2 separate regions of the Homo sapiens genome follow, and region 1 is linked to region 2. Evidence: promoter capture Hi-C in 16 types of primary human blood cells and fetal thymus (Javierre and others, 2016). All regions are on one chromosome and are shown on one strand. The core of a region is centred on a gene start or on the middle of the fragment in contact, and the rest is flanking DNA. Distances in the headings are between cores, read along the strand shown. Region 1 overlaps HADH (hydroxyacyl-CoA dehydrogenase). Region 2 holds the start of COL25A1 (collagen type XXV alpha 1 chain).

The links. Contacts are between HindIII fragments. The CHiCAGO score rates a contact against its expected background, and 5 or more counts as called.
Region 1: a contact is called between a fragment that was not itself captured here and the fragment with the promoter of COL25A1 in region 2, in 1 of 17 cell types (fetal thymus). The highest score is 5.6, in fetal thymus.

The regions. Positions count from the first base shown.
Region 1 is chr4:108,015,787-108,018,504 of GRCh38, forward strand. All of the region lies in intron 3 of HADH (hydroxyacyl-CoA dehydrogenase), which reads left to right. Among named protein-coding and RNA genes, the nearest start is that of HADH, 27 kb to the left of the region's middle. The HindIII fragment of the contact is 3,162 bases long and covers 1-2,718 here.
Region 2 is chr4:109,301,407-109,304,106 of GRCh38, forward strand. COL25A1 (collagen type XXV alpha 1 chain) reads right to left here and starts at 1,252. Exons shown (of 38, transcript NM_198721.4): 1 at 763-1,252; 2 at 317-669. The coding sequence starts at 613. It overlaps COL25A1-DT (COL25A1 divergent transcript), which reads left to right and starts at 1,629. Exons shown (of 3, transcript NR_160939.1): 1 at 1,629-1,921. RefSeq lists an enhancer at 1,324-2,106. The HindIII fragment of the contact is 6,447 bases long and covers 1-1,510 here.

The DNA.
Region 1 (2,718 bases), core at 195-2,694, 1.3 Mb before region 2:
TCTGACGTTCCTTGGTTCATTTCACACTGGCATCTAGAGGCTGCAGAGACATCTGACAGCAGACAGTTAAGGACATGTAGGGTACTTCTGTGCTCCACTCTCGGGCATAGGAGTACCCTACGTGTCCTTAACTGTCTGCCAAGGACCCTCAGAGCAGTTCTGTGTTTCCTCCTTTTTTGGATGGAGCAAACAGAATGGTGTAATTGAAGGGAATGCCTATAGACAGAGAGGACTTTCCTGTTTTGAGCTTCATCTGGGTTCAATCGAAGTACTCTTGGGAGTGTTAAAGGAGCATTGACTTCTTAGCTGGCTGGCTTCCTGGTGGAATTCTTCCTGGCAGAATGTACCTTGGGATCCAGAGCCTTCGAGTGTGTGACACCTGACCCACTGATCAGTGCTCTTCTAGTGACTTGTTTGACTATATTTTCATGCTTCTTGGTTGGAATTGAATGGCAGAATAAGATTATATGACAAAAGCAATTCTCAGGGCACTTCCGGTGGGCAGTGGCTAAAGAGAGTCACTTGCATACCAGCTTGTCGGAATGTTAACCTTCAGAGATGGGTGGCCTTGTGGCCAGAGAGGCCCTGCCCCTGACAAAGAGAAGAGACTTGCCTTTCTGTCATCTGTCCATCACTGCCAATCAGTGTCCTCGTGCATTTCACACTGGCATCTAGAGGCTACAGAGACATCTGACAAAAACAGAATATACTTGTGGTACCGGGACTGGCTCCCAGGCCAGCAGGGAGCCCTCTGGGATAATAAACAGCCACCCCAAAAAAGGGAGTTTTGTCAAGCAGTTTGATCTTTATTGAAAAGATTGGTCGCTCTTGGTGACAGTGAAAGGCCTGACTGCCCTCCATTGTCCATGTCTGGTACAGAAGAAGGATCACTGGAGAAAGTCAGGAGGCCTGGGCCTGGTGCTGACCCCCTCACCACCTCCAGCCTTGGAAAGGTCCTCAGTTTCGTCATCTGTAATGCAAGTTGAGGTGATTGGGGTAAATAATTTCCTAGACCTTTCTGGCTCTAACTCTCTAAGACTAGCTTCCCCCATTTGTAAAATAGGAGCAGCAGCACTGGTACCTATTGTACAGAGTTGTTTAGGAAACTCATTTCATTTAGCTCACATTTCCTGAGTGCCTGCTGTGTATCAGGCACTACACTAGGCTCTTTAACCTGAATTGATGCAAAACAGATATGAGGTGTGAAAAGAAGGCATGACCCATAGTCATACCAAAGATGTGACTTTGCTGCTGACCTTCTCCACCTTTCTTGGCACTGTTTGTTTTTGTTTTAGATCACCACCATTATTGAATGCTTGCTACAATTTTTAAGCAGCCGTATTGAGAGGTACTTTACTGACAAATTTTACAGTTCGATCCTATAATGGGAGAAGAAAATATAGTCAAGTGATACATTTCGGGTTGGAAGCCCTGATGAAACAGTTGCATCCTGGAGAGAACATGACTTCTCTAGCAGCAGCCTAAGACACACAAATGAAAAGTATGACCAGACGCACAGGCAGCCAGATCGAAGTCCTGACTTTCCCCTTTAGACAAAGTACAGACTCTTGAATCCTTTGCCATCCCCACCAACCCTCTTGTCTTCTTTATACTAGGGTCTGGGGCCATTGCTAATAATCACTGTGCTTGTGTTGTCGATTTTCTTTTAGAACATTTAAGAGAAAAGTAGTTTTTTTGGTACCTGAGTGTCCGAATGAAAAAAACAAAAGATGGTTCAAGACAAGTGTTTCCAGGAACATGTAAGAGTACTTTTTTTTTTTTTTTGAGACGGAGTCTCGCTCTGTCGCCCAGGCTGGAGTGCAGTGGCATGATCTTAAGCTCACTGAAACCTCTGCCCCCCAGGTTCAAGCAATTCTCCTGCCTCAGCCTCCCTAGTGGCTGGGATTACAGGCATGCGCTACCATGCCCAGCTAATTTTTGTATTTTTAGTAGAGACGGGGCATGTTGGCCAGGCTCGTCTCGAACTCCTGACTTCAAGTGATCCACCTGCCTCGGCCTCCTAAAGTGCTGGTATTACAAGTGTGAGCCACCGTGCCCAGCCCAGAGTACATTTTGTTTGTGGATGAAAAGACTGTCCTATGTGTTTAGTATTCTCTGAAGACAGTGTGAGACTTTTAGGAACAAAGTCAGCCTGACCCTGTTGGGAGAGGCAGAAGCAGAGGTCTGCTGGGGAGAGATCATTTCCTCCTTCTGATAAAATGTGCCAGAGTGCCCTGGACTGGTGATACCTGGAACTGGGCTCTGATGTCACTTTATTTTACCAAATGTGCCCAAGTTTCCCCTTTTTGCAGGTGAATGGCCCTTCAAACATTCTACAAAAAGGGGTATTACGATTGTAATACTAATCTTTAAAATAACACTTTCTTTTCTTAACGGGAGTGTGGAGCCACAGCTGGCACAGCCTTGGGCCCAGGCTGTCCCTGCTCTGTTTTTGTGGTTCCAGGTGCTTGTGGTGCAGGTTGTGTGGTTGAACAGTGCTTGTGTTGGCCACACACATTGTTATTGGAAGAGGATCTTTTTTTCATTACCTTCTGTAATGGGGAATAGTTTATATTATTTTCCCCAATGACCAAAAGCAAGAAACTTTGAAAACTGAAATTTTAAGACCTTAAAACAATGTCATTTTTTTTTTAAAAAGGAAACCCTGGCATTTAAATGGCCTACCTTGGAAGCTGTTGGAGAAGGTGGATGTGCTCA
Region 2 (2,700 bases), core at 2-2,501:
CAATTGGGTTTGACTTAGGACAACTAAAAAGAGATAAAATGCCCTTTCCGAACCCTTTTAGACCTTCCTATGTGTTTAACACGCAAACATTAAGAGAGAGTGAGGGAAGATTAGAGATAGGGATGGGGACATCAAGGGATGTGCACATATAAATATATGCTACAGTGAGCATAGATCCTTGGCCAACACATGCACGCGCGCGCACACACACAGCCACACCAAGTATGGGTACAGTAAGGGTAGCGGCTAGTCATGCACACAGAGTCACGCTTGTACAAGATGTTACCCACGTGCAAAATACCCCAGCCTCTCACACCTGAGCCAGAAGTCGCTCCACTTTCTCTTGCACCATAGTCTTGAGGTGATCCAGGGTATCAGGCAGCAGATGAATGGAAGGGGCCCCTTTGGCGGATTCGAGAGCGGCGATCCTCGCCTGGAGGTCGTTGGTTTTCACACCCAGGTACAGGCAAGACACCACGGCCACCACTGACAGGAGGGCCGCCAGGACGGCACACGGGGGCATGGTCCGGGCACAATGCTGTTCGGCAGGGGTCGGGTCCTCGGATCTGGGCTCCCGGCCCCCTCCTTTCCCTGCGTGCTTCTTCAGCAGCATCGTGGCGGGGTCGGCCGTCTCGGCTTCGCTTCCCACCCTCTACACCTCAAATAATCCTAAAAGGAAAGAAAAAGGTCGATTCCTCCAAAGTTCAGTCCCTGTGGCTGCACAACTAGTTGGTGGAGTCAAGCCCACGAGCGGATACGGACCCCTGCCTTGCTCAGCGTCCAGACCCGCAGGCGTGCACCATCCCCGCTTTCTTCTCTCCTCCCAGCTGGAAGTGAAAAGCACCCTCCGTCCGGGGACTGGGTGGCGGTGGGGTAAAAAGCAAGACGAAACCCACCCAGACAGCTCTTCCGACTCCCAGAGGACCGACACCTCTTTCGAGGGCCCCAACAGTGGCCGCTCAGGGTCCGAGGGCAACGGCCGAGGCGCCACGCGGGGCCGCGGCTCGCCCTGGCCACGGAGGACCGGACCTGTTGCGCCTCTGTGAGTTTGCCTTATTTCTACCTACTCGGTGTCTTTCGGCACGCCGACCTGTTTCCCACCTGCATTCAGTTCAAGGCAAAAAGGCTGTGAGAGCACGCTACAGCGCAGCGCGAAAGGGGCGACTAAGGTGGAGAAGAGAGAGGAAAACGAAATAAACCCAAGGAACCAATGCTACTCGCGAAGCCGAAGTCGCGGCTGCCCGAAGGATCTCCGCAGCCCCGCGTGCGCGATCCTTAAATACCCTTCGCGATGCTCGCGTGAGTGTGTGTGTGAGTGTGTGAGTGCGCGCGCGCTCCGAGCACGACGTCCCTCCCCCGACCCCCTCCCGGCGCCCGGCGTCCGGCCTGCCGCTCCCGCTGCTGCGCGCCCCCCTTCCGAAGGCAAAGCAGGAGCCCGCCTTATTATCATAATGTATTCACCTTGGCCCAGCCCGCGGGCCGGCCCGGGGAACCCCCAAGGGAGGCGGGAAGCTTGGGTGGGAGCGGGGCAGGAGGTCTGTTATTAGCATAATGTATGCAAATAGCTGGAGCGGCCACCGTGATTGGAGAGGAGCCTGGCGACCCCTCCCCCTGCGCGGAGTAACTTCAGCATCTCCGAGGGCCACCTCTCTGGCCTGGGCCGGGGCCGAAGCGGGGTCGGCTGCGCAAGAGGCGGCAACTTTGGCTTATACTGACTCAGCCCAGCGCCCCCTTTTTATCCCACATAAAAATGGAGAAATGGCCTCCGGGAGGAAGATGTGAAGCGGCACGCTCTATCTCTACTGATCTTCACTCAAAAGCAGCCGCAGGAGCTGTTGCTATCTCGCTGTGGTGCAGCGCTTTTCCCTCCTCCCTCACTTTCCCACATGCCCAGAGGCAAAGTGTCTGGCCGACGTCTGAGGTACATTTCCCCACTTCCCTTCTCTTCCCACTGCAGCCCTCAGATTGTCCAACGAGGGGAAGTTTTCCTTCCCCTCCCCCAGTTTCCTTGTCTTGACGGCACTGAGTCTCCTCCCAGCTCTGTATTCCTAGTCTGTACTAGGGTGCTAATGTGTTTTCCTGATTCCCTGTTTTGCGGGATTGGAAAAGGGAGTGTTGAGGTATACACATTTCTCAGGATTTAGGAAAGGAATGAAGAATGAAGTCAGTTTTTCCTTTTACCTGACTCTTAATGCTGTTCTCTCTGGATCAAATTACAAGGTCTCTAATGGGATTTTGGAAAGTTGGTAACAAGTAGCATTTGACATCTAATTGACTTTGGGGAAAACAGAAATCCCACCTCTTATTCCAAAGAGTTCCTTCTTATCTCCCTATAAAAAAAAAAACCATATATTTTTCCTATTCTCCTTAATTAAGCTAACCTGAAGTCGTTGCTTACTATTGTAAACAGTCAACAAAATACTTCACTAAGTTGGTCTTTCACATGTGTAAACGGATATTGCTAGGTGTGAAGCAAGGTAAGGAAATAACAGCATTAGAGGAAGAAAGAGACTAACATTGGAGGAAAACTCAATGAATTTGGCTATAAAGTCAAAACCATAATTCATTTGTATTACACAGTGGTTCTCAAAGGATGGTCCTAGACCAATAACATCAGCATCACCTGAGAACTTGGACATTAAAATTCTAGGTTCCTACCACAGATCTGAATCAGAAACTGCTACTACCACTACTGAAATA